7 separate regions of the Homo sapiens genome follow, and all the other regions are linked to region 5. Evidence: promoter capture Hi-C in 16 types of primary human blood cells and fetal thymus (Javierre and others, 2016). All regions are on one chromosome and are shown on one strand. The core of a region is centred on a gene start or on the middle of the fragment in contact, and the rest is flanking DNA. Distances in the headings are between cores, read along the strand shown. Region 1 has its middle 46 kb from the start of LINC01812. Region 2 has its middle 26 kb from the start of C1D. Region 3 has its middle 24 kb from the start of LINC01812. Region 4 overlaps C1D (C1D nuclear receptor corepressor). Region 5 holds the start of MEIS1-AS3 (MEIS1 antisense RNA 3). Region 6 has its middle 81 kb from the start of ETAA1. Region 7 has its middle 6.9 kb from the start of LINC01812.

Region 1 (2,700 bases), core at 58-2,557, 1.4 Mb after region 5:
TCAAGTTCTTCTTCTGCCACCTCCTAGCTGTGTGACTTCTGGTAACTCACTGCCTTCTCTGAGCCTTAGTTTCCTCATCCACACAATAAGGATAACCGTCGCTACCTTGCTGGTCCCTAGTGAAAATTAAATGAGATCAAGAGACTTAGTACAGCACCTGACATATCTACACTCATTAAGTGTGGTTGGTGTGGCTTCTGTTGCCAATTCTCTAAGTGGGAAAACAGGATAAATTGCAACTCATTCAGTGTCCCAGAGAGTTTGCCACTGAACAAGCAGCAATTTCAAAGTTCTAATTTCTTTTTCTTTGCTCTCTGAATAGCTCAGAAGGGATGGATAGGCTGTGAAAAATGTTCTCAGGCTGGTCAGTTTGAGATATTTCATTTCACGAATCTGTCTGTGAAAACTGCCAGCTCATTTCATTGATCAATGGCCATCCAGTGTTGGAGTTTAAGTTATTACCACCCTAAACTAAGGCTGAAAGAGATCCTTAGGAGTAAGAAGCTCCGAAAGGTACTCGTGGCTTCTTCAGAGACATAGCTAGGCTCCACAATCAAGCTTCAATCCGTTTTATGTGCAATTTGCATTTGTACACGAACAACTTTTTCTCATGCTGGAATTTTCTCCACCAGCTTGTGGATGGACTTTTGTAGCTGCCTCAGATGATATTTTCTAGCTTTCTGTGTATGCATTTGCAGCTGTCCTGTCTCCCCTTCAAAGCACCCTGGCTTTTCAAATGTAAGCAGATCTAAGTGGACACTGTCAATCAATCAATCAATTGATTAAATATATATCAAGTACCTACTTGGTACAGTGTCAGGACTCTCAACATGGGCAAACATAAAGAAGAAAACACATTATGTGGTCTTAAAGACTTGAAGTAACTAACAACAACACAGGTGAGTGGATCCTAATGAGGTAGCTCAAATAGTTAAGTGTCAAAAATTACTAGAAAGGAGATGGTCACTTCTGAGTTTAGGGATCTCAAAAATAATGTTAAGCAATTCCCACCCCATCCTCATCACCATTCCTCTGACAGAATTAAGAACAGAACTGTGCACGAAGTGGGTGCCTCATAAATGCTGACAAATAAATGCTAACACATGTATTACATGTAGGACATGTTCTTGAATTGACGTTATTTCTTTCAGAAAATCTCCTCCTTGCAAGTAGCTTAGATGCTGATTCCTCACAACTTATGAGATTTAGCACAGCAGATTTTACATGGTAGAAATGTCACAGCGTTGGAGAAGGATGGGGTCACACAGACAGAGGTTAGGCTTCCAGCTTTGCCGCCTATTAGTTATAAAGTCTGAGCAAGTTACTTAACCTGAGTCTGTGTCTTCCCCTGAAAAACAGGAGTAAAGCCATCTCTTCTGCAAGATTTTTGTCAAGATTAGAAATAGTGTAAATAAAGCATGCAGTGACACATAAAAGTGCTAAATAAACTGTATCCATTCCCATTACTCTGTTCAACAAAAATCGTCCAGCTCACTCTCCTCATCTCCCTTCCATGGTGGAATAAGTTCCTGACTCTGCTGTACAGGACCCTCAGCTCACAAGACACCCACAATAGCAAACAAAGCTCAAAACTCTGCTTCTCTTTATTTCATCTTACATTCTCAAGAGGAAAAAGATAAAACACAACAACAGGCATTAAGAAACTAGGAGAAACTGACCAAACTAAAACCTCCCCCTGGATGCTCCATAGATCCCTGTTCTCTTAGAAACTTCCCTGACAAAGTTTGCATCTATGCTCATCTTTGAGTTTGCTTCACCCACCTTTGACCTATGGCTAGCCATATGGCCTCTTTATAAATGATTCTATGTAGAAGAAATTATCTTGAAGAGATTCTATTTTCCCATTAATAATGATTCACCAAGACCAATTGCACCAAAAAATCAATAGAACCCACAGATTCTATCATCAGGAGAGTGGGAAGAAGCAAATCTCTTCCATTCATTCACATCAAGTCACCCTCATTCCCAGATTGTACATCTCTGCGATTTTTCTCAGTTCCAACAGATTTTGTGGGGGCTGAAGTGACAGGAAAAGCAAGCTTGTTACACCACAAATCACACAGACGCTACTGGTAAGGGCAGAAGTGTGGAGGCACACACTAAAAGAAGCATTTCTTTCTCATTCATCATTTAACCAGCTCTCTGGGTTGCTGTTTCAGGGCCAGGAAAACACCAGATCCAGTGAGAGACAGAAAGTCCCACTTTCTCGAAATGGAACTTGGACAAAGTTCTGTGAGGCCCAGGGAAAGTAAGGCCAACGCAGCGTGGCCAAGGTTCTGATGAACCATAAAGGAGAGGAAATGGCACTTTCCTCTGAGTCATGCAGAAACGATTTACTCTCCAGCCTTCTAACCATTAATGGTCTGAAAACGTGGGGCAACTGACCTCCAGAGCCGCCCTGCTCCCACAGCATAGCCCGCAGTCCTGCGCCAAGCTGACATGGAAATCAGATCAAGAGTGAACCTGAGGTAGTGGCACTCTACCCTAACTGTTGACAGATGGAGAATGGAAGCCACATAAATGCTCTCTCTTGTGTCAGCACTATAAAAACGCCGGACTGACCCATGAAAGATGGAGATGGAAGCTCGAGCAGCCATTAGGAGCCATGCCTTACTCTGAGCAATAACTCACTCCCATCGTATTATGAAAATGGTTTTATTGCAGTGGATTACCTTTTCC
Region 2 (2,700 bases), core at 80-2,579, 1.6 Mb after region 5:
ACACATTTCCTACAAACTAACCTCCCCTGATGAAAATTAGGTACAATAAAAATCCCTTTCAATTTAGCATTATTAAGACATTCAAGCAAAAATCACACTATCATTTACATATGATAACCCTACTGTTGCGGTGTCTAAACTTATCTTGGTAAGATTCAGAAGTTTCAAAATACCATGGAAGGCAGATTTGGAAGAGACCTACTTCCAAATAAGAGTTCTTATTCTCTAACTATATCTGGAAGGCAACTTGTCTAAAAGTAAACTGAGCCCAAATTTAGGAAAAATAGTTAATGCTCACAGACTATATATATGTATATATATGATAATGAAATATTTGCTACCACATTTAAGTATTCTTATATTATTTCTCCATCACTGAAATGTTTTATTGCTTAAAATTTCAGTAACTAAATAACTCGTATTCACAGGAGTACCTCATTGTCATGCTGCTTCTTTGAACGAATTTTGTTGCTTGTCACTACAACTTTTTTTCTCTTTCGTTTTACCAAAGAAATTATGTTTATGACAACAAAAAATATTCACCATGAGAATCTGATGGGAAAAAATAGAAACAGAAAAAACCAGAAACAAAACTATCTACTTCATTCCTGCTGGTGTGAGGGACTCTCACTTGTAAACCTTTTCTGTCTTTAGTTCTGGTGATAACTTTCCTAACACTCACCTACATTTGCTGTATCACTGGATATCATCTACTAGCTCCCCAGCCTGAAAACTCAGGATTTAATTTATACTACTTTCTCCCTTCCAATTTTTGATAGAAGAATTAAAAAGAATAAATCACCATTACCTTTGAAAAATAAACGTAAAACCGTATTCATCCACCGGTTTTGTACAGCATCTGTGTTTCTCACCACATAAGGATGACCCTCTAATATGTTCTCTATTTCTAACTCACTTCTGCCTATTCTACCTTTACTTTTATACTGGCAAGGTCAATTTCATTTACTTTCTTGTTTTACCTATCAGTTGATTCTAAACGCTGAAAACCAATAAAGCAACATTTACAATATTTAAAAAAAAAAAAAAAACTGGGCCCAAACTATTAAGAGTATGAACCCACTTTGACCCTAAATCATTAAGGGTGAGAACCCACTTCTGAGTTCTCACTAGAGCTCTTTTTTTTGTTTTGTTTCGGTTTTTGTTTTAATAGAGATGGAGGCTATGTTGCCCAGGCTGGTCTCAAACTCCTAAACTCAAGCAATCCTCCCGCCTTGGCCACCCACAGCGCTGGGATTATAGACATGAGCCACTGCGCCCAGCCTCTGAGTTCTCTAATACCTTTTTTTTTTTTTTTTTTTTTTTTTTTTTTTTTGTCTTTTGAGACGGAGTTTCGCTCTTTGTTGCCCAGGCTGGAGTGCAATGGCGCGATCTCGGCTCACCACAACATCCGCCTCCTGGGTTCAAGCGATTCTCCTGCCTCAGCCTCCCGAGTAGCTGGGATTACAGGCATGCGCCACCACGCCCGGCTACTAATTTTGTCTAATGCCTAACTTTAAAGAAAGAAAACTGGGCCAGGCGCCGTGGCTCATGCCTCTAATTCCAGCACTTTGGGAGGCCGAGGTGGGTGGATCACTCGAGGTCAGGAGTTTGAGACCAGCCTGGCCAACATGGTGAAACCCCATCTCTACTAAAAATACAAAAATTAGCTGGGCACGGTGGCGGGCACCTGTAATCCCAGCTACTCGGGAGGCTGAGGCAGGAGAATTGCTTGAACCCAGAAGGTGGAGGTTGCAGTGAGCTGAGATCCCGCCACTGCACTCCAGCTTGGGTGACAGAGTGAGACTCCGTCTCAAAAAATAAAAAAATAAAGAAAACTGAATATCACACTATACAGTTAAGAATTTATAGACACATACACATTTTTTAAAAATGTCTATCTGGATGAATCCAATACGCGATTTTTTAAGTGGTGTGTGCTTATCCAAGAGGACAAATTATACACATATTCTGGCAGATTTTTTTCAGGATTTTCGTTATTTGAACCTGACTGTTGCATTACATTAGGGAAAGATCACATGGCAGATGATAATAGGCATGGTGAAAATCTCCTCTCCATGGAAACCCGACAGGGTTTTAAGTAAATTTCTTCAAGCAAGATAAAGATTAAGAGATGGCATACTCAACACTCAATCATAACTGACAGTATGTTAGAAAGGTCTGAACATTTTGGCTTCAGAAAGAGTATAACAGACCCTTGACATTTCAAGGTGTAAGTTCCAAGATTTTTGCCCAAATTCAAAAGTATTCTTGAATAACTTTACCCAGGTTCCTGGTTTTCTTCAGAATTACACTTTCATCTTGTGCCAAAGATTTTTACACACATTTTCACATCCAAGTTATTAATCTTCTCAATCGTGTCCACTCAATAATGGCCATTGTGTGTGTTTCCTAGGGCTGCCATAACAAAGTATCAATAACTGGGTGGCTTACACAACAGAAATGTGCTGTCTGGCAGTTCTGAAGGCTAGCAGTCCAAAGTCACAGGATCAGCAAAGTTGGTTCCTTCCGAGGATTATGAGAATCTGTTCCAGGCCTCTCACCTAGCTTCTGGTGGTTGCTGGCAATCTTTGGTATTCCCTGGCTTACAGAAGCATAATCCCAAACTCTGCCTTAATCTTCACAGGTGTTCTCCCTGTGTGCATGTTGTGTCCCAATTTCCCGGTTTTATAAAGGCATATT
Region 3 (2,700 bases), core at 159-2,658, 1.4 Mb after region 5:
GGTGCCCTCTAGGCCTCTTCCAGTACAGGGTATTGTTAAGCCAAAGGTGGATTAGATTAGCCCAGCAAATTGCAACGTTCATCTTTGAGATTACAGATGAAATTGCTAGAGGAAAAAAAAAACTCAAGCAAACAAGGATTTTGGTCACAAGTTGGAACAAATATGGGCTCCTGCTGAATAGCTACACAGAGAAAAATTTGGAGTAGTACCCAAGACCCTCATCATTCTCCCCACAGACAGAAATGATGGCTCTGGGAAAGAGAGGCTGCAATCCCACCACATGAACTGTAGATCTGGGCTACGGTATTTGGAGGGCACTGGAGTGGGACAGGATATTCACCGAAGATATTTACTAGTATGATTTTCCATCTGGCCTTATTATTCTGGCATGGCTGCCAGCACCTTATAATCCCAGCATTGTATTCGCAAGCAATTCCTCTGCTCATTAGCAGAAGCTGAGTCCAACTCTGCTCTTGTAGGGGCTTGTGAATCAGCATAGACCAACAGACAGCGTTTCCAGGAGCTAGCTGCAAAGAAACAAGGACGCTACTCATTGAGGGGAAGGCATCTGTATCAGTTAGGAATTGCATTTGACTGTTAGTAGCAGGGGCTGGATATAACAGTGATTAAATAAATGTGCTTCCTCCTCGTGTGAAGGAAGTCCTGAGCAAGGCAGTCCAGGAGGACATGGAAGTGCTGGAGTGTCAGGATCCTTCTATCTTTATGCTCCATCACAGTTAGCACATGGTTTCCATCTGCAACACTGTCTCATGGTCTAAGATGGCTGTTGGCTGGGCCTCCAGTAGTCACATTTATATCCAGGCATGGAGCAGAAAAAAATGGGAAGAACAAAAGGAAGTACATGTCAGCTATTGTTCCCTTCTCAAGCTTTCCTGGACATCCCACTGAGCCACTTCTTAATTTAATTTGCTAACTTCTAGCTACAAGAGAAGCTGAGCACATTGTCCCTCAAATAAAATCCAGTTCCTGTTGTAAAAGAACAGTAGGAAGAATAAAATGAACATCAGGTTGATCCCTGGGTTGCTTCAGAATCATGCAAAGACATCTGTAAAGGAGAGTTACTTCCAGCTTAGAATGTTTATTTCAGCCTTGACAACCACATTAACAATAAGCATCATAACCACTGGGTCACAGTACACTCTCGGGACCCCTGCCTTTGATTGGATGGAGGAATTCTTTAAGATTATTTGAAACTTGTGCTATCTCTCCATAAAGTTCCTCCATAGGAATGACATTGTTCCTGGGTCACATCACTGTCAACATTTACAAGTCATCATCTGTGAACTTGATAAAGAAATTAAGTCCCATTATTGGGTTAAGATTCAACTGTCTCACTCTGTTGAACATAGTGTGACTAAAATCAAACAAAGTGCTAAACAAGTGGCCAATGTACAAATACAAAAAGTGACATGGGCAACTGCCACATCTAACCAGATCATGTCGACCCTGATTTGTCACGATCACCTGGAAATGTCAAGTGAAAGTAGCAGTTTGGTTTTAGGATACTGGAGAATAATAAAGTACCACGTATAAGGAGGTATTTAATAAAAGGAATTGGATTATAATAATGAAGATATGAATCATGATGATGATAAGTGGATGATAAATTACTTTAACTCTTCACTCCGTGGGCACATGCCCACAAGAGTGGGATCTTCAATTTATATGGATCCCTTTAATTTCTACTACGCTTCACAGTTTTCAGGCAATTTTATCTCATCTATGCCTCAAAACTCGGAAGGACAGACATTATTAATAGTAGTGTTTTTAAACTGATGGGATAGAAGCTCAAAAATAGCAAGTGACATATTCAAGTTGTCACAGTGGATAAAGGCAGAAAGCCAGCACTAAAACCCCACCCTTGCCTGTAGGCTGGGACTCTGAATTATACCTCTCGAGCAGAACACATAAGCTTTAAACTACTTTATGTTTTTGAACCCTGATGTTATTTCTTGAAGATTTTAAGGTCTTTAAATGAATGGGTTATGTCTTTTTTGTCACTGAATTTGCCTGTGCGCAGAACAGAACCTTGTATACAATAGGAGAAACTCTCAATTAATGTTTATTAAAGATAATGATATATGGACTCAGCATATGGTGAGATCAGCAACATCTATTAGCATAAGAAGGGGCTGGAAAAAATGAAAGTGAGCCTAACCTCAGTCTACCAAGAACACAAGGACACTGTCTCTACCTTTGGTGTCTGGATCTTGGGTGGGAGAGGGTGATCAAAATTTGACCTCAGTGTGCCAGAGTCATTTTATCTATAACATAAGGAGATAGGACTGGAAAATTTCCGTGAGACCCTTCATTATTAGAATGCCATGATTCTAATCGCCACTTGAAAGTTCCTGAGAAAAGAACCATGTGAATGGCAGAGAGATAAGGTACTACGGTTCAAATCTTCTCTGGTTCTTTATGAAAAGCTTTAAGTCTCAAAATATCTGCTCTGCCTTTTCTTAATAAGTTGTGCCCATGCAAATCCCTATTCTCTCAATGTAAGCACAATCACCAAAAAAGAGAGACAACTACACCCTAGTGAGAAGCTCCACAAATACACTCTCTGGAGGTCTCCCTGTCAGGTTCCTACTTCCACCTACACCCTTTATCTCTAAGTCTCTGCCATCACTGATGCTGAAAGACATTTTTTTTAAGGTAGGATCTTCTAAATCCAGCCCT
Region 4 (2,700 bases), core at 35-2,534, 1.6 Mb after region 5:
AACAAGTCAACAGCATGAAGCAAAAAAAAAAAAGTGGGGGAAGAAAGACAGAGGAAGAAGAGATTTAAGAGATGTAACAACCAAATGAAATACACAGACCTTGTTTGGATCTTGATTCAAATAAACCAAGTGGAAAAAGATAGTTCTGTGAGAAAGAAATCTGAACATGGACAAAGTACTAGATGACACCAACAAATTATTGATAATTCTGTCATCTATGATAATAGCAATACAGTTATATAAGAAAATTTCCCTGTCTTTTGAGGATGCACACTGAAGTATAGAGGGGTAAAATTATGTAACATTTTGAATTTGCTTAAAAAAAAAGTAGCCTCCACAAATTATTACAACTTTGAGAGCAAAGATAAGAACCTATGTACATTATTTCTATAGTGAAATTAGATGGCTAACTCACAAACTAGCTTTTAGAATACAACTCCGTTCATATATAGGAGAATAACTAAAGAGAAGGTGTCGTCTAGAATATTTAAGCAGCTCCATTACATCTCATTTCAATTCCAAATATAACTGGAGTGAGGGAGAGGAAGGTTACTGGGTGCTCACTACATCTGTGATAGTTGCTGAACATATAGTCTCAAATGAAGTTTGTATTACTAACATTTCCAACAAAAGGCTCACATTCTAGAGTGTCTATTTATTTCAAGAGTATCACAAAAATCCTTTTGAGACAGAGTCTTGCTGTCTCGCCCAAGCTGGAGTGCAGTGGCTCAATCTCAGCTCAACGCAACCTCTGCCTCCCAAGTTCAAGCAATTCTCCTGCCTTTTACAGGTGCGTGCCACCATGCCCAGCTAATTTTTGTATTTTTTTAGGAGAGACGGGGTTTCACCATGTTGGCCAGGCTGTCTCGAAATCCTGACCTTGTGATCTGCCCACCTCAGCCTCCCAAAGTGCTGAGATTACAGGTGTGAGCCATCGAGCCCAGCAAATTCCCTTCTTTAAAAAAAAAATCCTAATTTCTTGTATTTTTACCTGGCCCTTAAAAATGCAGGCAAAATAAACAAATAAACAAACACCCAAGACTAATGTCAAATAAAAAACTAAAAAAAGACATATGCAACACAAAGATTTTTTTAAAGCCTCTATGAATCAATTTAACAATAACAAAAAAAGTACACACAACCCAAAAGAAAAATAAACAAGAAAATCAACAGTTCACAAATAATCCAGATGACCAATAAGCATAAAGAAAGCTACTCAGCCTTACTGATAATTAAGGAAACATAAATCGCTAAAATATGATGCCATTTTCATCTGTCAAATAGGGAAAAATTAAAAAGATTAATAGTACTAAAATGGACAAAGGTGAGCTGAGAACAGCCTCCCATTCACTATTAGTCAGGGTATAAATTAGTTTAGCATTTTTGTGAGGTAATCTGCACTATGCTTCAAAATCACATATGTACACATGCTTTGACCTAGCAATTTTACTTCTCAAAGTATATTTTAGCGCAAGATAATGTTTAAGGACTTCCACTGCAATGATCTTTAAAACAGTAAACTTTAAAACAGAACAACCCACACATCCATTATTAGAACCTGGTTAAATAAATTATGATATGCCCACCTATTAAAATACTCTGCAGTAGTGAAAAGGTACGAGGTACAGCTTAGAAAGATTCCTAAGATATATTAAGTGAACAAAAGTTGAAGAACAGCATGTATAATACATCCTATTTATTTATTTATTTATTTGAGTCAAAGTTTCGTTCTTGTTGCCCAGGTTGGAGTGCAGTGGTGCGATCTCAACTCACTGCAACCTCCCCTACTGGGTTCAAGTGATTCTCCTGCCTCAGCCTCCCAAGTAGCTGGGATTACAGGCGTCCACCACACCTTGCTATTTTTTTTTTTTTCGTATTTTTAGTAGAGATGAGGTTTCACCATGTTGGCCAGGCTGGTCTCAAACTCCTGATCTCAGGTGATCTGCCTGCCTCAGCCTCCCACAGTGCTGGGATTAGAGGCGTGAGCCACCACGCCCAGCTCATCCCATTTATTTTGAAGAAAAAAAGATATATGAATGTGGAGGCATATTTGTATGGTATATGCATGTAAGTTTTCTTAAAGGATCCAAAAGAAGCTGTTAACTGTGGTCACTTCTGGGAAACAAAAAGCAAGAAAGTGAGGAAGTACATTTTGTTACACTCTCTGAATTACAATTTTTAAAGAATAAAATATGTAACATATTATAATAATACTTAAGTTTATAAATAAAAACTTCGATCATCTCAAATTTTGAAATTTACTTTATTCTCAAACATACCAGATAAAAATGTCATTTCCCCCTACTTAGCAGCAACAACTAAACCTATATTCTTTACCACTGTTACATTCAAAGAACCATATAAATGTGTTTTCTACACCTAAATTGTCTAGCCACCAGGCGGCTATTTTCCTCTATTCTCATGGTACAAAAGCCTCCTCTGGCCTGCTTGCTACATGGCCATACCTCCCAGTCAACTGGTTTAAAGATGCTTTTGCAAGTTCTCATCTTCTCTTTCTGCCCCCAGCCAACCATTCTAGCTCTAGGCCTACTGAACATTCATTCCTAACGAAATTCACAAAAGACATAAATTAATGCTACCCAACTGCAACAGGTCCTCTGTCAGTTGCCTGACAGTTCCTTTATTTATCCCTGATACCTCCTCAGCACTTATTGCAAAATGTCATGTAAATGAGTAATA
Region 5 (2,700 bases), core at 64-2,563:
CCACGCATCTCCCTCCTACCCCCGAGTCGCGCAGATGCCTGGCGGGCCTGATGCGGGGACGATGATCACACCCCCGCGAGCAGCCATCGGAAGGCGCTCAGGTATACCCCGAAGTCGGCTGGGGTTCCGGGAAGGGGTCGCAGACTGCCGGCCCAGCTTAGTCCTTTCCCTAATCGGAAAAGGAGCGTGCTGCCTGGCCCAGCCAGCGCAGCCTCCCAAGGATTAAACAGAAATCGCCTTCCTGAGACGGGGAGGTTCCATCTTGGCCTGAAATTCTGCTTCCAAGTTCATGTTGTGGGGCCGGGGAGCGACGGTGAGGCGTGGGGTGGGGGGGTGGGGGGATGGGGGGAGGCCGGGAAGTGTAGGCAGAGGCATAAAGGCGCTGGTAATGCACCTGGCTGCCCACCCACTCCGTCCCCAGCTTTTACTCGCGGGCCTGTCTTAACCTCCCAAGTGATGTTTCAGGGCGTTTGTACCAGAAAACCTACACATGTATGTGATGGAAAAAAACTAAAAGATCCTGAAACTTAAGCGTCAGAAAAAAGACAGGGAGAAACAGAGAGAAAAAGGAGAGAGGAAGCAAATGATAAGGGATCCTGGAGATGGTTTAAACACACACACACACACACACACACACACACACACACACACACACACACACACACGAGGGAGAGCTCTTTCAAGGCAAAGCGCTTCTGAAGGTTTTGGGAGAACGTGTGTCAGCCCTTCAGGCACACAGGGTGCCAGTACGGAGTTGGGGGCGGGGAAGGGTGCAGTGCAGGCGGCTGGGAAGGCTCATCTGCTCGGCTTTATGGAAACGCTCCACTGTTGGGGGCAACCAACCCCGCGTTGACTCCTGCGAAGTGCTAAAGGAAGCGATAGATGTCGCCTAAGGAGACTACGGACGCTCGGTGGAACCTCATTCCAGACCTATGTTCTCATGCTCGCCCTGTGTCTCCTGCTCCTCGGAAGCCCACTCTATAGAATCTTCAGTCCTACCTCGCAGACGGACGCAAATTATCTTTTACTTTGCGCTTAAGAGTTGGCTTCAATACATTTTAGAGCTCCTAACCTTTCCCAAACAATCTTCGGATGAAGGGATACCCCCAATCTTGCTCAAAACTCTTTCCCTACCTACACCCCCTTGAGGGTGAGGGTTCAGTCCGCAGCTGGCGAGTGGGACGTGGGTGGGGGCGATGGAGGCGCGGGCGGGCTGCTTGGAGGGAGTCAGCCTTTTGGCCACCTTCAGGGCGGGAATAGGGACTGGCAGTTCGCATTCCCCGCAGATCGAAGCTCCCTGCTGATCGATTATTTGATAATTGATTTTCCCCGCAGCCAATGCGCGGCGGCCTGGGCGGGGGCGCCTCCTGATTGGCCGAGCACTCCTCCACGGCTGCCTACCGAGATTTGGGTGAGCTCATTTTCCAGTCGACCGCAGGGGGAGTTTTCTGCGAGGTTTCAGCTGGAGGGAGGGGGAAAAATCCTCTCGGAGCCGAGCGAGCTGCGAGCCCTGCTTGTGGATGTGAGGTTTCCAGCCACTGGTAGAGCTGCTGCGGCTGAGCCATCTCGGCAGATCAGAGCCCAGCGGACAGAAATATAAATACGAAAATAACGCCACTAAATATAATCACAAGGGAGAAGCTTAGAGCGGGAGAATAAAGAGAAGGGGTGAGGGGGAATTAAAGCCCAGGCAATAGGTGTTAAAGTTAAAAACAAAACAAAACAAAAAACAGTGGTTGGTTGGAGCCTCCGAGTTGTAGGTACAGGCAGCTTTTGTCTGAAATCTCAGCTTCCGAAGCGGATTTCTTTTTCTCTGGCACTGGGAGGTTTCGCCGAGCCGGGTTGGGGACGGGAAAGAGGAGCGCGGGGAAGGATGTCTGGGGTGGTGAGGGCAGGGCTTCGCTGGAGAAAGAGCTAGTGGGGCGCGAGGTTCTTACAGGCCCGGGAGAGGTCGAGGCTGGAGCCCCTCGGCGCCTCTAAGACAAAGGCAGCGGTGGCTGCAGCCGGAGCCTAGCACTCCGGCAGCGTCGCGCCGCGCCGCGCCGCGCCCTGGGCGCACGGCCGCCTCACCCCGAGCGGGTCGGAGAAAGAGCCTCCCTCCCAGCGGCTCCCCGGCCCCGGCTCCGCCCGCGAGGTCTGGGCTGCTGCGAGCCCGCGCCGGGTTTCGCTTTCCGACGATCATAAATAGCTTGGTGTTTGTAAACAGGCGCTGGGGGCACATTCCCCGCGCTCAGCTCATTGTTCCCTCCCTTCCTCTCTACTTCGCGCAGGACGCCTGGGCTGGGGCTGGGAGCCGCCGGGGCTAGGAGGTGGGGGAGTCCAGACCCGAAGTGACAAAATGCTAGCATTTTCTTTCCCCCGGCCGGGCGTCCACCTCTAACAGCAAAGAAACCTCTAAGCTGGGTCTGCAGAAAGCCCGAGCCACCTCAACCCCATGTTCTCAGGACTCCTTAGCAGAGGCTTTCCCAACCTGGCTTCTCCCTCCTTTTCCTCCACGATCCCGCTTTGACTTTTCTCCTTGCAGTGTTTAGTTCTGAGAATTCAGTACTTTGCGCATCACCCCCTGCCCCGAAAAACACTGGCAGACCCCAATAATTTCGAGGAAAGTCATGAAGTCTATGCGCGGAGCCCTGTGCAAAATAACTCCCGCTGCTGCCTGCCCGGCGTTGATTCCCAATTTATTTCAAGAGAGTCGGCTTT
Region 6 (2,700 bases), core at 72-2,571, 1.0 Mb after region 5:
GAGCATCCACATGCAGTCATGTATTGTTTGCAAGAGTGCTCGTTTCTCATTGATGAGGTCCCCTCCCCCGTTCTTTTTAACTAAAATTAAGAGAGAATCAAAGAATCCGTCGGGCAAAACATTTTTTTTCAGTTTTGGGGGTTTTGCCTTAGACGTGTGCTGATGTCAGGACAGAGTCCACAAGAATGAAGTGGCCTGGCTCTGGCAGCTTGTGTCAGCACTTTCATTCCAAGTTCCTCTTTTCAGGAGTTTATAACATTGCAATAAAATTTATTATGGGCTGGGACTTGGCATACAGGAGCCTGGGCTAACACCGTAAAGTAGTTTGGAGATTTTTTTCTTTTCTTTTTTTTTTTCCAAGCAAATGTTCAAATCTGTTGGGTCCTGTTTCCCTTTTTAGGGAGTTCAAAATAAAAGCCTGCTCTCATCTGGTCACATGGCCTTGGTTTCTCCTGGTTTTGCTTTCCCTGTGGGCTGTTAGAGGAGAACTGAAAAGGGTCCCCTACCTACGCTATGGTAAACTCTTTTAGGATGAGTTGGAAACAAACAAACAAAAGTAATAAAGAAGTAAATGTTTCCTGTAAATGAAAAAGGCCCTTAAAATTGTAGTTGTTGGAAAAGAGCCTCCAGGGTAGGCGAGGGAAACATGAAAAGGTATTCAAGACTGTTTTCTATAATTGGGTGATCTTCTATGCCCCCCAACAGCTGGGCTTGTTGGCAAACAAGAAGCTGTATGTGGAAAACATGCTCCAATCTGTGTAAACGAAGCAAGCCATGAAAATTAGCATCATCCCCAGGTTAAAAAACAAAATAAAACATGCAGAACACAGACCCCTAGAGAATCAGGTGGGAGGATGTGAGTATGTGGTTATGAGTATGTGCAAGCAGATCTGTTTGATACCGTGGCATATAGAAAATATACACTATACATTTACATTTAATGTATACCTTGTCATGCCTCCCTTGCTTTGTCTTCTTGTTATTGCCCACAAGAATCTATGTCTCAACGACAATTCCGAGATGACCCCCATCCAGAAAAAGAACAAACAATTGAATCAGAAAAATGATTAATCCCATGGAAGGAAATTAATTAGGGGTGTACATAGCTCAATAAGGAATGTCAGAGTTAGAAGGAACTTAGAGTATTGCTTGACCAACCGCTCTTGTATTTTCATTTGCAAGTGAATAAGGTCGCGAATGTCAGCTTTTCCACATCAGAGCTGATATTCAACTAGAACACACAGTATATCTTTACAGGTGGTTAATGGGCAGCATGTGTTCTAATTGGACAGTGCCCAGCCTGGTTGATGTTTTTGGATACTTTCGAATATCACTGCTATCTGTGGTCACACACTGAGTTTGTGGCGATAAGCTATATCCTGGGTTTCTCTGCCAATCATCAGAAATTGTACAGGCTCCAAAATTTTTAACTTGATAGATCTACCGCAAACACTTTCTTAAACGGCCCCCACTTAACTGCTTTGCCAGATCAGACCCACCTGATTAGCAAATGCTCTCTGTTCACTGCATAAAACCCTCCACAGGATGAATGCTAGTGTCTTCTCATTGAGGACCAATGGTATCTACAGTTTGTCCCTAAACCTCCTTAAGTCATTGTACTTTTTTTTTTTTTTCGAGATGGAGTCTCGCACTGTTGCCCAAGCTGAAGTGCAGTGGCGTGATCTCGGCTCCCTGCAACCTCTGCCTCCTGGGTTCAAGTGATTCTTCTGCCTCAGCCTCCCGAGTAGCTGGGACTACAGGTGTGTACCACCACAATGGGCTAATTTTTGTATTTTTAGTAGAGACGGGGTATCACCATATTGGCCAAGCTGGTCTCAAACTCCTGACCTCGTGATCCACCCGCCTTGGCCTCCCAAAGTGCTGGAATTACAGGCATGAGCCACTGCACCTGGCCATCATTGTACTTTTTATTATAATTATGTCATTTAATAAAATATGAAGCTATGAATGTATTTTCATGAATCTATGAAAATTTAGCCAAGCACATTGAAAGACTTAATATAGTTGATTTTTGTTTAAAGTAGGATTGTTAAAAAAAAAAAAAAAAAGTAGGCTGTTGAAATGGGGTGGGCCAGACAACTGTGAACAATTGGAAAAAGCTGCAAAACAATGTGGACATTCTTTTGGCAGTCAAAGTGCTTTGCAAGTATCATATTTTTTTCAGAGAAATTTCCAAACTGGAAATTGTAGAAATATATTATGGATATGGTTTATATAAGAAAGATGCTGTGGAATTCCAGAGGACCCAGACAGGAGGAAGGACCCTCACCCCTGCATCAACAGCTGCAAAATGGACGTGCATTAAAATAAATGTTTAAGTGTAATATCATTTTAAATCATTCCCCACTTGAACAAACTTTGGATTAACTGATTAACAAGTGGTCTCATCATGTCTGAGTAGAGGGCTCTTCCACTAACTCTTTTAGCTCTGTTGTCTTGAGAGGATTCCAGAAAAGAACTTGTGGTTTTAAGCTCTGGGAGCAGGTAGGGGGTTTGGTATGAGTGGAGGAGGGAAGCAATGGAAGGTGGTAAAGATTTTGAAGAGGAAAAGCACGGTAAGGTGGAATAGGTCCCTTACAAATGATCTAGATATAGAAGGCACTGGCAAAGACTAGACATTGGATGAGAGCAAATCCAAATATGAATGATTATTCAGAATGGCTCACTTGGAGAATAAAT
Region 7 (2,700 bases), core at 68-2,567, 1.4 Mb after region 5:
TAGGAGTCTTCAGCAGAAATGAAATGAAAGTGAATGATTCTGGGGGGCCCAGGATACTTGGAAAAGATCTATGGTCCAAAGAGGGGTTAGGACAGCTGAAAACCAAGCTAACCTACATCACCCTCTCAACCAGCACCTAAGCCTTCAAAAAGAAAATGAAGAAACTTGGACAAAGAGCCAGTAGATCCCAAACATAACACCCATCAGGAATGGTGTCCTTGTCTCTGGACAGGGACTCTGAGACACCCATTTTTTATTTTATTTTATTTTATTATTTTATTTTTCAGAGACAGGGTCTCTCCCTGTGGCCCGGGCTGGAGTATAATGGGTGATCATAGCTCACTGCAGCCTCAAACTGCTGGGCTCAAGCACTCCTCTCACTCTTAGCCTCCCAAGTAGCTAGAATTACAGGAGTGTGCCACCATGCCAGGCTAATTTTGGTTTCGTTTTGTCTGTTGGGTTTTTTTTTGGTAGAGGTGGGGTCTCATTGTTGCCTGGGCTGGTCTCAAACTTCTAGACTCAAGTGATCCTCCCACCTCAGCCTCTCAAACATCTGGGAGTATAGATGCACACCATCACGTCCAGTTAATTTTTTAACTTTTTTGTAGAGACGGGGTCTTACCATGCTGCCAAGGCTGGTGTCAAACTTCTTGGCTCAAGCCATCTTCCCACCTGTCTCCCAAAATGCTGGGATTATAGGGGTAAGCCACCGTACCTGGCCCCTGGCCTCTTCTCTGTTTCATATAAAAACACCTAAATGAGCACTTTGGAAGGCCAAGACGGGTGGATCACTTGAGGTCAGGAGTTCGAGACCAGCCTGGCCAACATGGTGAAACCCCATCTCTACTAAAAATACAAAAGATTAGCCAGGTGTGGTGGCACGCGCCTGTAGTCCCAGCTACTCAGGAGTCTGAGGCATGAAAATCACTTGAACCCAGGAGGCAGAGGTCGCAGTGAGCTGAGACTGCGCCACTGCACTCCAGCCTAGGTGACAGAGTAAGACTGTCTCAAAACACACACACACACACACACACACACACACACACACACACACAAAACCACCTAAATGATGTATTTAATGCATTTGGGATATTGGATGTAAGACATTTCCCAAGAAGAGGTAGTATTAATTACATATTTCACATTTGTACAAAATAGAAAGAAATATTATGAGGGGTAGGAATCAAAATGTAGGGAACTGGGCCTGTTCTGTGTTACCATAATTTTAGGACTTAATATAACATCATATACTAAATACGGGCACAACATGAAAACCAGTAACCAGAGGTCACAGAGTAGCCATTAGCATAGAGTCTAGCCAACAGAGGAGATCAGGAAATCTTTCTGAGATGGATAGAGGATAGATGGATAGATGATTAGATGATGATTGGATGGATGGATGGAGTATCTTGTGAACACCCTTCAAGCTAGTAGTCATGAGACTATTGATAAACAAGAAGGAGCGGCATTCTCCATGGCATATTTTGATCTGAGCCCACCACTACCTTCCATCTATCATTGCAGTTGAACCAGAAAGGCCTGCCTCAGCAACAGGAGACCTTCTCTAAAGCATGTTTTCATTAGGGCTTTCTCAGTTGCAAATGACAGATCCCTACTTGTAATGGCTTAAGCCACAAACAACAAGTGTTGAAAGGATATTGGAATATCTCAGGGAATACGAGGATAGATGCAATTTAGTCTCAGAAACCATTTAGAACAAGAACTAGAATCATGTAGGGAACCAGATTTTTCTTCTTTCTGTGCATCTGTTTGATTTTTTCCAGTGTATCTGCTCCATTTTCCTCTGCCATATTGTAGAGTCATTCTTCCTATTTGCCAGAAAACTTTTTTTATAGCAGAAAACATTTTTTCAATGGTTCCTGAGTTCTGCATGATCCAAATCCTGGTACCAAGAAAGAGTCAAAATTGACTCTTAGGACCCATTCCAAATTCCTGGGAAAAGAGCACATTGGCCCAATTTGGGTCAGCTCCCCACTGCTGGGCCAATTAACTATGGCAAGGAGTTAGAATTATGCTGTGTGCTCTCTTGGCAACCATGAGAATGGGAGTGGAAAGGAAAACATTCTAGAAAGATAGGTGAGCTGATCAACCAAATCCCTACAAATAGATTGGCACCACTGGCAAAATTCTTGAGCAGCCCTGGAAAAAATTGTGACATATGACTCTTCTTCATCTTCCATTATTTCTGCACCCACTCTCAGCCCACACACAAACCTCTGCCATCAAGCATCCAAGGATTTCAAGCAATCCAAAGCTGCTTTACTTTGAGACCCAATCCACGTGTACATCCCCACCCAAACTCCACCTTTTCCTTCACAACGTAGAGTTTTCAGGATTCAACTAAAGCCTCAGTTACCTCGTTGGCCCCCCAGGAACTTTGAAAATAATCTCAGCATGCAGGCCTGATGGATAAAGAGGAAGTAGTGTCCGGCATGCATGGGGGAGACAGGAGCCAGAGGTCACTCTGTGTTCAAGATATAGACATAACTCACGCCCACAGAAGACAGTCTTCACAGGGTCCTTCTCTAATGTTCCATCATTAAAATGAGTCAGCTTCTCTGTGTATGTGTCTCTGTGTTTCTTTAGATTTTTCCGCTTCTGCTCCTAAACCACTGCCCACCTCTCCTGTTTAAATTCCTGATCGACCCAATATCCCTTTGTGATCAGAGGTCAGCTTAC

The links. The method cuts DNA at HindIII sites, captures the fragments that hold promoters and counts their contacts. A CHiCAGO score of 5 or more calls a contact.
Region 1: a contact is called between a fragment that was not itself captured here and the fragment with the promoter of MEIS1-AS3 in region 5, in 1 of 17 cell types (endothelial precursors). The highest score is 5.6, in endothelial precursors.
Region 2: a fragment that was not itself captured here is called in contact with the fragment with the promoter of MEIS1-AS3 in region 5 in 6 of 17 cell types (M2 macrophages, M0 macrophages, M1 macrophages and 3 more); the score reaches 14.1 in M2 macrophages.
Region 3: a fragment that was not itself captured here is called in contact with the fragment with the promoter of MEIS1-AS3 in region 5 in 14 of 17 cell types (M0 macrophages, naive B cells, M2 macrophages and 11 more); the score reaches 22.9 in M0 macrophages.
Region 4: a fragment that was not itself captured here is called in contact with the fragment with the promoter of MEIS1-AS3 in region 5 in 1 of 17 cell types (M2 macrophages); the score reaches 6.0 in M2 macrophages.
Region 6: a fragment that was not itself captured here is called in contact with the fragment with the promoter of MEIS1-AS3 in region 5 in 2 of 17 cell types (endothelial precursors and fetal thymus); the score reaches 6.1 in endothelial precursors.
Region 7: a contact is called between a fragment that was not itself captured here and the fragment with the promoter of MEIS1-AS3 in region 5, in 4 of 17 cell types (erythroblasts, endothelial precursors, M2 macrophages and 1 more). The highest score is 6.0, in erythroblasts.

Annotation. Positions count from the first base shown.
Region 1 is chr2:67,869,769-67,872,468 of GRCh38, forward strand. No RefSeq gene overlaps it. Among named protein-coding and RNA genes, the nearest start is that of LINC01812, 46 kb to the left of the region's middle. The HindIII fragment of the contact is 1,502 bases long and covers 557-2,058 here.
Region 2 is chr2:68,035,547-68,038,246 of GRCh38, forward strand. No RefSeq gene overlaps it. Among named protein-coding and RNA genes, the nearest start is that of C1D, 26 kb to the right of the region's middle. The HindIII fragment of the contact is 4,289 bases long and covers 1-2,700 here.
Region 3 is chr2:67,848,256-67,850,955 of GRCh38, forward strand. No RefSeq gene overlaps it. Among named protein-coding and RNA genes, the nearest start is that of LINC01812, 24 kb to the left of the region's middle. The HindIII fragment of the contact is 1,045 bases long and covers 887-1,931 here.
Region 4 is chr2:68,055,456-68,058,155 of GRCh38, forward strand. All of the region lies in intron 1 of C1D (C1D nuclear receptor corepressor), which reads right to left. Among named protein-coding and RNA genes, the nearest start is that of C1D, 6.2 kb to the right of the region's middle. The HindIII fragment of the contact is 3,356 bases long and covers 1-2,700 here.
Region 5 is chr2:66,432,157-66,434,856 of GRCh38, forward strand. It overlaps MEIS1-AS3 (MEIS1 antisense RNA 3), which reads right to left and starts at 1,314. Exons shown (of 4, transcript NR_046438.2): 1 at 1,135-1,314. RefSeq lists enhancers at 1,143-1,495, 2,365-2,700 and a silencer at 2,021-2,120. The HindIII fragment of the contact is 5,363 bases long and covers 1-1,639 here.
Region 6 is chr2:67,477,340-67,480,039 of GRCh38, forward strand. No RefSeq gene overlaps it. Among named protein-coding and RNA genes, the nearest start is that of ETAA1, 81 kb to the left of the region's middle. The HindIII fragment of the contact is 7,874 bases long and covers 1-2,700 here.
Region 7 is chr2:67,831,146-67,833,845 of GRCh38, forward strand. No RefSeq gene overlaps it. Among named protein-coding and RNA genes, the nearest start is that of LINC01812, 6.9 kb to the left of the region's middle. The HindIII fragment of the contact is 3,031 bases long and covers 1-2,700 here.